2 separate regions of the Homo sapiens genome follow, and region 1 is linked to region 2. Evidence: promoter capture Hi-C in 16 types of primary human blood cells and fetal thymus (Javierre and others, 2016). All regions are on one chromosome and are shown on one strand. Each heading gives the region's core, a stretch centred on a gene start or on the middle of the fragment in contact. The rest is flanking DNA. Distances are from core to core; before and after follow the strand shown.

Region 1 (6,172 bases), core at 146-2,645, 1.6 Mb before region 2:
ACCTCAAATATACACAATACTATTTAAAAGGCACTAAATCGTACTAAAATAAATGAAGCATTAGGTATAAATATAACAAAATAGGTGCAGCGTCTGTATGCTGAAAACTACAAAACACTGATGAAAGAAGGAAGAAATATCTAAGTAAATGAAGAAATATGCAGTTTCATGGATTTGAGGCTTAATATTTCAAAGATGTCCATTCTCCCATTTTCCCTGATTTGAGCAATGCAATCTCAATAAAATTCCAGCAAGTCTACTTTGTAAATAACAACAAGCTGAATCAAAATTCATGTAGAAAGGCAAAGAAACTATAATAATCACAAAAATTCTGCAAGAAAAACAAAACAAAATTCTGGAAAATGAACAAAACAACAAAAGTAAAGTACTCACATAACTTGATTTTAAGACACTATAACGTGACAGTAAACAATAAAATGTGGCATTGGCACTGGGATAGGCAATCAATGGAACAAAAGTAAGAATAGAGAAATTGACTCAGACATATATTGACAAGTGACTTTTGGCATAGGTACAAGTCATGTTAGGAAAGAAAGAGAATCCTTTCAGTTAATTGTGTTGGAACATTTGATATGCAAATGTCCCAAATAGGACCAATATATACCTTTTCCATATACAAACATTAATTCATAGTGGATTATAGATTTGAATGTAAAATGCAAAACCATACAACTTCTAGAAAAAAAACATAACAGAAAAGCTGCATGGCTTTGGTTTTGGTGGTGAGTTTTAAGATACAGTACCAAAAGCATGCTCAATGAAAGAAGAATTTTTAAAATTTGACTTTAACAAAATTTAAAGTGTTTGCTTTGCAAACGACCTGTAAATATGGTAAAAAAGCAAGCCACAGACTTGGAGCTATTACTTGCAAATTTCATATTTGATAAAGTACTTATATCCAGAATTTTTTCTCTCTCTCCCTATTACCCTCAAGTACTACTAAAGTTAAAGCTTAAAATAAAATTGACAACACCAAATGTCGATAGGCATGTGAAACCACAAGAATTCCCATTGCTGGTGGGAATACAAAAGTAGTATTCTACTTGGACGTCCACACCCCCTGGATCACAGATTGCCCATTTCTTATAAAGATAAACATACAATCATCTCATGGCCCACAAAGTCCTGTCCTAGATGTTTATCTAAGTGAATGGAAAACTGTGTTCACACAAAAAACAATTTGCAGATGTCTATAACAGTTTTATTCATAACACCTCAAACTGGAAACAACCAAGTTGTCCTTCAACACGAGTGGAGAAACAGACTGTGGTGTGTTCACACGACGTAAGGCTACTCAACAGTGAAAGGAGTGAGTAACCGACTCACAGGATGTAGATGAATCTTAACTGCATTTTGGTAAGTGAAAAAGGCAGCACCCAAAGGCTGCATATTACATGTTCCACTTATATAACATCCTGGAGGAGGCAAAAATGTAGGAACGGAAAAGGGGGCAGGGCTTCTAAGGGTTTGGGGATGGGTTGATGAGTGATGGAACTGTTCTGTGTGGTAGTGGGTGGAAGATTTTTGACTGCATTTCTGTGTTGTGGAAAGACATGGAAAAGCTAAAAAGTCAAATTTATCGTATGCAAAGTAAATAAAAACTCAACTAGGATTTGAGGAAATCTCAAACTAGAAGGATGACTGTGACAAATGAATCTAACTGATTACAAATGATGACACAACTCAGAAATGTTGCTCCAGAATCAGAGAAGAGAAGTGTGAATCTGGTGGGGAACTCAGCCGGGCAGGCTGGGAGCTGTCAGGCCAGCCACTTGGTGGTGCCAGAGGACCTCCAATAGAAGCTTGCACATGATTTTACATAATTTACCCAGACAGCAAAGAAGGCTCAGCCACTGCACTCAATCAATACCAGTGAGGACACTGCCACACTTGCTGAACACAACCCTGGAGCACGTCTACAGGTCAACAGCATGACACCGATAAAACTGAAAAATGGAAAAAGCACAGGAGCCCGAGCCTCTACACACAGAACCTGGGCCCCTTTTTGAATTTCATATGACTACACTGTATAATGAGTTTTGACTGTGTCCTGGTCATTGTTTAATTTTTCTCAGAATTTACTTGGAGTTTTACTGGTTGGAGATTTATGGACTGTATGGTAGAGAAAGCAAACATATAAATAAGCATAATTATGCTGGCTCCCAATGTAAAGAATGAATTCATTGTTCTAGTTTTGCTGGAGTTGTCACTGAAGAGCTCTGAAAGAAGCCTTCTGCCTGCTCAGAACCTTGAGGCATCCAGTGGCACCACAGAGCTAAAGCCATCCAAAGCATCTGGCGTAGCTTCCCTGGTAAAGATGTCACACTAGTCTCATGAGTCCACACTCCCTGAGAGCCCTATAAACTCTCACCATGTGAAACTATCACAGGTTCGCCATTATGCAAAGTATTTACCCCAAAATTTCAACTTTATCTTACTTCAGGCAGACATAGAAGAGGTACTTCCAAAGGTTCATGCAGTGTACTTAGGCTCATGGTCAATCAGCGCAGGCTGCCTTTTCTCCATGGCTCCGAAGCAGCTTCCACTAGACCTAAGACCTGGAAATGTTGTCTTATAAGAAAAGATGAAAAGAAAAAACATGCCCTAGATTCACATGGAAGGAAGACCATACTTTGCTTTTGGCCACTAGTCCACAATTAACCTGAGAGTTATGTCACCCAGGTACAACACCTGGTCCCCTGTCCCGTCAGAAACATTTACAGCAAAGATAGTCAGGAATGTACCAGAGCAGATGATGTTCTGGAGAACCCAAATTACGCAGATGAAGACAACTTATTTCAAAAGAAAGAGAAAATTGTGAGAAGTGAAGTTTCCGCCAATACCCACTGCAAGTGTGCCAGATGACTGGCTCTAGAGTGTCATCCTCGAATCTGGGGGCTTTCCTTCCCTGTTTTCCTGGGCATTTTCTTGGCATGTTGCCTACGTATGGTTCTTTTCTGTTAACAGGCACCTGCTGCCTCTCAGCAATGGTGTCTATAATGTTCCTCCCCCTACTATTATGAGCCACTAGCTCATCCCTAGTGGCTTCTTGTCATGAGTCTAATTTCTGGTTTGATATTCTCACAATGGGGCTCATTCTGACAATCAGAATCACTCCTAGGCTTGGTCTCACTGTCTCTGTGCGATAGCCAGACTCTTGGTATCAGTGTCTTGTGACATATACGTTGGTTTTCTGTGTAATTTTACTCAAACATGAAGTGACATTTTGCATGAAACTCTAATATTTGTTTCAAGGCATTCCTATAACTCAGTTTATCAAGACAGTTTGTTTATCTGTGCAAACTTCTCTCTATCAGGACAACATGTTGCTAATCTGAGCAAAAAGTTCATTTACCAAGTAGCAATGTTCTTGTGAAGGCTCACTTCGAAACTCTTGTCTTCTGTCCACAAACCTTACAAGATCACACCACAGGCTTTACCCAATCCTAATCAATTTTCATCTTAAAAGAATCACCGAAACCTACCATTTATTCTAACAAACTTGATAATCCACACTTCATCCTGATAAAAACGTTAATTCAGGAAATTCTTCTGGCACAGACTGGGGTCTCCGTATCTTTCTCCCTCCAATCATGATCCCGGCTCTTCCGGGATCCCATCTCTGTTGGTGAGGAGTCACTGGGGCTCTGGGAGCCCTGGAAAGACTTGGGACTTTAAAAGCTGAAGATTCTTAAGAAGCTACAATGTATATTATTTGTTGTTTTATTTTATTGACTGGTTCTCATAGCATACATATGTATGAAAAACTAGTACTTATCTCTTTTTTATCTTTCTAAGAAGTCTTTGCAAAAAAGAATTATGTGCTGGTTGTGTGTGTCTGTGTGTGTGTGTACACCGGTGTATGTGTGTAATGGGGGAGGTGCTGGTTGTATTATTTGAGAATAAAGAATACAAGGCTTTGAAAAGTCACTTTGCCCAAGGCTACATAGTAAGTTTTTTGGATTTTGTTTGTTTTGTTTTCTTCAAACAGGGTTTCATTCCTGTTGCCCAGGCTGGAGTGCACTGGCGTGATCTCAGCTCACTACAGCCTCTACTTCCTGGGTTCAAGTGGTTCTCCTGCCTCAGCCTCCCAAGTAGCTGGGACTACAAGCACATGCCAGCACACCTAGCTAATTATTTTTTCGTATTTTTAGTGTAGATAGGGTTTTGCCATGTTGCTCAAGCTTGTCTCAAACTCCTGGCCTCAAGTGATCTGACCGCCTTGGCCTCCCAAAGTGCTGGTATTACAGGCGTGAGCCACTGCACCTGGCCTATAGTAAGTTTAACAGCTGGAATTCCAACCTTGTGAAGCATTGATAAGAACTGGAAAAAAAAAAATTCAGAAGAGTAACTTAAACACATATAAAATGCAAATCCCCATGGAAGTGTATTAACTAGACATTACTTACTAGATTTCATTAAATTCCGGTAGATCTAAACATATTGCAATTACATGCACTGATATATTTTTGGAAACTGAATATTTTAATAGCTTTGTTGAAATATAATTAATAAACCGTACATGCCAGTTAGTATAGTCTCAGTGCTGTGCAACCACAACCACAAGGTAATTTTAGAACATTTTTACTCTGAAAGGAACCCCATACCCGTCAGCAGCCATTCTCTTGCCTGCCACCTCCCTCCACCAGTCCCTGGCCACCACCAATCTACTCGATGTCTCCATGGGTTTGCCTGTTCTAAAACTTTCATATAAACAGAATTATAGAATATGTGGTCTTTTAAAAATTCCTTCAAACTCTGTATTTTCCCTAAGCATATATCTAACTGAATTTATGAAACTTTTGCAATAATTTTAAAGGAAAGTTTTGAGTTACTTATTTTCAGAAATGGTAATATTCAATTTTTTTTAATTCTACACAGAAATAAATATCTTTGAAAAGCTCAGCTGTTGGAAGTGAAGATGCTTTGTCCAAATGGAGAAATAAAATTAGGATGAAGAGACGCTAATTTAACTACATTTTGTGATGGGAAAAATGCAAGACATTTATTAGGGAATCCATTCCCGATCCTGCATAAAAGGGCACAAACTTTGGCCACAGAGTATTTTGAAGGGGATACATGATAATATTAATTAAGCATATATATGGGGCCAGATTTATATTTTTAATAGACAAGTTAAAATACCCAAATTCATGCAAGGCATAAGAATGACAGCTTTGTGAGGAGCAAGCAAGGCCTCCAGGAAAGGGACAGGGAGAGAAAGTGGGAAGCGGATGGAGGTTGGGCTGAGGCCCTGGTCTCTGCTCTTCCCTCCTCCCCACCAGCCCGTTTCTCTTTTCCATCTTTTTCTACCCTCTATGACAAATGAGAGTGTATCAAATTCACCTCCAAATGGGCTAATGTATTTTCCATGTCTCCTTTCACTCGGTTTAAATATAGAAACAGAGGAGTGTGGAAAGGCACTAGCCCCAGCAGAGCGGGTTGGCTTTGTCCCCGGGTTCACTCTTGTGTCCTGGACAGGTCACTTCAGGTCTCTGCTCCTCGGATTCCTCATTTGTGAAACACAGGCAAAAACTCAAGGATCTCCACCTTGCTGTGGTGGTGAATTAGTGGGGTAAATGCTTAGCCCAGGGCTGGCTTGCTGTACCCTCCACAATGACTACTTGAAGTGGATCCCAGAGGCTCTTTTCTTTGCAATAAAGACAGTTTAAGAAAACGAGATTTTTAAATAACTTGTCTGCAACTTCTGCAAGAGATGATAAGAGCATATGGTTTCTTTCTAAGCTACTTTCAGATGAACCGTAAATCTTAATGCGTTCTCCTGCACTGGAGGGAGAAGCTGCTAATGCAAGCTCAGCCCTCCTGTGCAGCTCGTAATGAGGCAGGCCCCTCAGTCCCCTCTGCTCCCCAAGACCAGCCCCACAGCTGGGCAGTTGTTGCAATGTGACACACTTGGACACGTAGCTGAGACGTTATTTTGAAAATGAAGAACCAATATTTTTCTTACTTATAAAAGCAGTCCTGCTTCTCAAAGGAGACACCAATCCTGGAAGACCTGGGACAAGGTAGAGAAGAGGTCTTCTCCCCTCATGCCTTCATGGAGAGGCTCATGCTGCTAGACATAGCAACCTCTGTCAGGAAATGTCGCGTCTTCAGCCCTTCACGTAGGCAGGTTTGATTCAGCGTCCTC
Region 2 (5,632 bases), core at 2,858-5,357:
AAAATACTCTAGATGTCAACAAAAACATGATTCAAATGGGAAGAGGAAAGATGAGCGGGAAGAGAATGAACGCCTGGCTACGAGTTGTCTGGGAAAAAAAAATTATTAATAAGCCTAAATCAGGGCAAAGTCTCCTTGGCAGGAGTTAACAGAAAAGCCAATGAATTATCATCACCAACACATTAAATACTTACTCGCGCAAGGTACTACTAATACAGAACAACTAAATACCACATCTGTGCCCTTGAGGATCAGGTATAGACAGTGGTACTACAACGCAAGCTCTATGAGTTTAGAGAAGATGAGATTTTTTTTTCTTGCTTCATTTCTTTATATCCAAGTCCTTATATAACGCCTATATAATGCTTATTTCTTTATACCCAATCCCTTATATAATGACAAATAGATGGACAAACAGTAAATTTTTCCCTCTGTGGCTGTACAATTTGACAGCTTATCAAAGAGACTTACAGTAGAATTCCAAAAGCAGACCGCCTGGGTTCTAATTCTGGCTTTCCCGTTTCGCAGATATGAGACTGTGGGTAAGTTACTTCTCAAAGCGTCAATTTCATCATATATACAACAGAGATCACTGCAGTTGCTACCTCATTAGGGTGTTCAAAGGATCAAATATGTAAGCCCTTATAGCAGTCCCTGACATGTAACTGGTCCTCTAGTAAGTGTTAGCTATAAGTGCTATGGCACTGGAGTATGACTAAGCACCTGGGCTCTGGAATTACATGAGACAGAGACCCACTCTTGCTACTTACTAGGTATGTGATCTTGGACAAATCCTCCAAATGCAAGTTGATGATAACAGTACCTGTGTCACAAGGTGTGTATATATATTTGGGTGTGTATATTTTAATGTACAAGGCTTGACTGATAACTATAACCACTGCTTCAATGCAATAGTGGAAATTAAAGGCATGGTGCCTCACAGACGTAAGCACTCAGGAAACTTAAGCCACTATTTTTACTGAGGAGGGATTTGTGCTAAAGCTCTCAAGAAGAAAAGGATGGCATTCCAGGTAATATAAACAGCAAGCAATGGCAAACAGGTAATTATTCAAATAGTACATACATTCAAGCAACTCATTCAGGCAGCCCTTTTTGCATAAGCACATGTAGTGACGTTAAGGTTTATGTGATGGACAGGGTTCCTACTGTAGAAAATCCCAAATGCCAAGCTAAAGATTTTGGAATTTTAGCAAGAAATCATGAAGGTATTCTGAGCAAGAATGATCTGTAGTTGTAACTACTCAAGAGGCTGAGGTGGGAGGACTGCTTGAGCCCAGGTGTTCAAGGCTGCAGTGAGCTATGATCGTGCCTGGGCATTAGAGTGAGACCTGGTCTTTAAAAAAGGAATGCAAGAGAGAGAAAAGTTCCATTTACAAAGTGGGGTTTTAGGAAGACTGCTCTGACAATAACATAGTATGTGAAATGGGACAGAAACACTGTTCTAATACTACTAATGCAATAGTAAGGTAGCAGGGTGAACAGTAAATCCAAAATCATCACAAACACACAAAATAGACAAATTTTTATATCTACGCAAATGTTTTAGGAACTGGGAAAACCAATTATGACATCCAAGATTTAGAACTTAGATGAACAGAATGATGGCATAATTATAAGTATTTTAAAGGAGAGGAGGCCGGGCACGGTGGCTCACACCTGTAATCCCAACACTTTGGGAGGCTGAGGGGGGGGGGGGGGGTCAATTGCCTGAGATCAGGAGTTCGAGACCAGCCTGGCCAACATGGTGAAACCCATCTCTACTAAAAATACAAAAATTAGCCAGGCGTGGTGGCAGGCACCTGTAATCCCAGCTACTCGGGAGGCTGAGGCAGAAATGCGTGAACCCAGGAGTTGGAGGTTGCAGTGAGCTGAGATCGCACCGCTGCACTCCGGCCTGGGTGACAGAGTGAGACTCTGTCTCAAAAAATAAGAAGAAAGGAGAAGAGGAGATGAAGGGGAATAATTAGCTTGCTTTTTGTTTTGCTAGCTGTCTTGAGTTGCCCTGAGAGCAGAAAAACCAGTTAAAAATGTTTTACTGAAGAAGCCGAATCGAGGGACTCATGAGAGGCAGAACTGGAAAACCAGATTTGGGAGTAATCCTCCCAGCAATGAGACATGAAAGAGTGCTGAGCGATAAACAAGGCGGCTAATGACTTAACTACATTTAAAGACAGAGTAGGAAAAGAGAATGAGGCCTCATTTTGCGGAAGCGAAGGCTGCCTGAGAGCCAGCTGCAGTAAACACTAAAGAAAAAGAACAATGACTGAGAAAAAGTAATCAGAAAGATCTAAGTAATTTTTAGGGCAGTAATGGCTTAAACTGGATTACAAGGGATTAAAAAGTGAGTAACGAGTAGGGCATACTGAACACTGAAAATTCTTATTTATAGAGAATAGCCTTACGAAACGGGTCCAATAACCCTCCCTACAATATACAACTTAATTAGTCATCACAGGAAGTGTTAAGGTGTATAATGGAAAAGCATCCATAAACTCAGTGGTGAAATAGCTATGAATTAAGTCCTGGCTCAACTTCACACCAGCTCTCTGACCCTGACAGTTTAACGTCTAATATAACCCTAGGATGCTAATATCATCTAACATTCACTTTTCATGAGGATTAAATAAGATGACAGCTTGCAATTTACAAAATGCATCTCTCTTGATTCTCACCAAAAACTATGAAGCTACTAAGGAAGATAAGGAAATTTAGGTTCAAGAAGTTCAGAAGTACCCAAAGTGTCCTTTAGTGGCAGAACCAAGGCTAAAATCAGACTTTCGTTATCTTTCTAACACACTCCCAAAATGTGCATTTATATTTCAAATTTATGAGGAACCAATTAACATTTTTGCTTTGTTTTTAAAATTTATTTTTGTAGAGATGGGGTCTTGCTATGCTGCGCAGGCTGGTCTTCAACTCCTGGCCTCAAGCGATGATCCTCCTGCCTTGGCTTCCCAAAGTCCTGGGATTACAGGTGCGAGCCACACTGCCCAGCCAATATTTTCTGTTTTAAGAACCATCGGTTCGTTCAAATTGCGTGTGTATATTTTAATGTACAAGGCTTGATTGGTAACTATAACCACTGTTTCAATTTACAGCTCTTCCCTGTCAAGAGTCTTAAACAGAGCATCTTTCTATAACCCTAAATCTCTGGCGTGCCACCACGGAAAATTATACTACTCAAGATAAAGCTGGTAATTAAAATAAAAACCAAAACTTGAACATAACATACAAGAACACACATACTAAAAGGTCCATCTTCTGAGTATTTTGTTTTCCTGAACTTAAGCTAAACGTTAAAAAAAAAAAGCACTTATCTATGAAACTAAGTTTGCTCAGCCAATCCCACCTTCTATTTGAAATAAAACAAAATGATTAAACTGCTACAATTAGAAATAACAGAAATCAGGCGGCTACAATTAGACATCTCGGCTACCAACCCAGCTATGCATCTAACAACACAGACCAAACAACCCTAACTTTTAAGTTTCAGACGCTAACCCTCTACCCTCGCCGGCTGGCATAAGAAACGTGTACATGAGGTCCAGTTTTAATGGTCTTCCACAGAGCAGAGGCTATGTTTCAATTTCTACTTTACTGTCTTACAGCAGCAAGGAGCACGGAGTGGCGGTCCACATAAAAACTCAAATGACATGACTGTAATGGGAAACCCTAAAAACCAAGGCTGTATCGCAATCACCAAGTAAACTTGAGCAAAGCGAGCCTGAAGAGGGAAACACAGGGCATGAGAGGACGGCAGGGAGACCGGCCTTGTGCGGACCCCCTCAGCTCAGGGTTCTGAGGCCTGCAGGAGCCCGGGGCAGCGCCATCACGGCGGTGACTCCTAAATAGGCTTCAGCAGATGGGGGAAGGGCGAAAGTGAAAGCCGCAGCTCTCTGGGGTTTTTACCCTCCGTTGAAAACGTAGGGCGAAAATCGCAGCTGCAAAGGGCCCGCGGCTCTGTGCGGTTCCATCCCCAAGTCTCTGCCAGGAGCCGAATACATGGCTGTAGAGGACAACATCGCACGGCTGCGCCTGCGGATCCGACACTTGCTGTCTCACGGCGAGATGGCTGCCTTGACCGGACGTTACGCCACTTCCGGCTTCTCCTGAAGTTCGCTCCCGGCCTCTCTATCTCACGCTAGTCGTTGCTCCTGGAGGGCTGCACGGCGGCTTGTCCCTTTGGTAGTTGAATCCCGCCCATTCCAAAAAGCGCTGACAGGGATGTAAAGGGTTTTTTTTGTTTGTTTTTTGTTTTTTTCCCCCTCGAAGAAAACATTGGAATTCACCCCAATGGACAAAAATTTAAGTCTGACCATACAAAAAAATTGTCAGAACTATGGCGCAACGGCAACTCGAATAACGGTGGGAACGTTAATTGTCCTGGCTAATAAAAAATGTATATAACATTTCCTATCCTTAAAGAGCTCACAACCTCACTGATAATAAAAAGTACAAAGAAAACAAGCAGTATAACATATGATTACGCCACAATGAACTACAGAAGGGAAAATCAAGGCGTGCTGAAGTCCCACTAAGAAACAACTGCGGAAAGAGCCATGTGACAACAGTGCATGAACTGGGAGTGGCAGAACTGAATATAAATGCATGTGTAAACACAAGCTGTTTGTTTTGCTTAGTGTTCCTTGTCATTCTACACGCTTGAAGATCAGCTAGCGTTCTTGCTGACAGGTAAGGAGGACGCGCTTACTGAGTGCCAAGCACTGCTCAGGCACTGATTCTGTCAATCTCTGTCAATCTCCCGACAGCCCAAGGGTAAGCACTGTTATCATTATTCAATTTTACAGAAAAAAAATGCGGGGGAGAGGTCAGGTAACTTGTCGAAGGTAACGCCGCTAGTTGCTTTAAACAACAACAACAACAACAACAAAACACACTCACACATATACACACACACGCCATTTAAAAATCGATCTTTCCTACGTCCAGCAAGGGCCAATTAGAGATGGCTGTGGCACGGCGGCCCCGCCCCGGAACTCCTCAAGAGCTTCGCCCCTCCTTACCTATGGAAACACAGGAAGTGACCTATGCTCACACTTCTCATGGCCTCGGCCCTAGTGGGAGCAACTCGCTGAAGCCGAGGGCAGAACTGGCGGAAGTGACATTATCAACGCGCGCCAGGGGTTCAGTGAGGTCGGGCAGGTTCGCTGTGGCGGGCGCCTGGGCCGCCGGCTGTTTAACTTCGCTTCCGCTGGCCCATAGTGATCTTTGCAGTGACCCAGGTAACAGATTGTACTCTTTTCTGACGGTTCGGGCGAAGGCCACCACTGCACTGAGGCCTGGGGGCAATGGTGGGGAAGAGACTAGGAATTGGCGCGCGTGCAGGCCCCTCGGGGGACGTTCCTCCCTTTCGTGCTGCCGCCGTTCCGGCCTGTAACGGCCACTCGGCCGCCACTCCCGCCTGGTGCCCTACTCTGCTGTGTTTCGCAGGCAGCTTCCCATCGTACGATTGTGGGGCTCAGGGTACTACTGGCTGGCTGGGCGGCGGCAGGCGGGACAGGACAGTCCCTTGCATCGAAGACCCTAAGTTTACCCTGCCCTGTCCTGCCATCCGCTTCTTCTCCATGTTAGAAGCAGATTCACCCAGATC

Evidence for each region. Contacts are between HindIII fragments. The CHiCAGO score rates a contact against its expected background, and 5 or more counts as called.
Region 1: a fragment that was not itself captured here is called in contact with the fragment with the promoter of PSMB1 in region 2 in 6 of 17 cell types (M0 macrophages, total CD4 T cells, M1 macrophages and 3 more); the score reaches 11.7 in M0 macrophages.

Annotation. Positions count from the first base shown.
Region 1 is chr6:168,955,281-168,961,452 of GRCh38, forward strand. It overlaps LOC105378146 (a long non-coding RNA gene), which reads right to left. Exons shown (of 4, transcript NR_136250.1): 2 at 2,460-2,579. Among named protein-coding and RNA genes, the nearest start is that of LINC01615, 200 kb to the right of the region's middle. The HindIII fragment of the contact is 851 bases long and covers 971-1,821 here.
Region 2 is chr6:170,549,200-170,554,831 of GRCh38, forward strand. It overlaps PSMB1 (proteasome 20S subunit beta 1), which reads right to left and starts at 4,108. Exons shown (of 6, transcript NM_002793.4): 1 at 3,931-4,108. The coding sequence starts at 4,043. It overlaps TBP (TATA-box binding protein), which reads left to right and starts at 5,170. Exons shown (of 8, transcript NM_003194.5): 1 at 5,170-5,264. RefSeq lists enhancers at 3,861-4,240, 5,051-5,440. The HindIII fragment of the contact is 7,721 bases long and covers 1-5,632 here.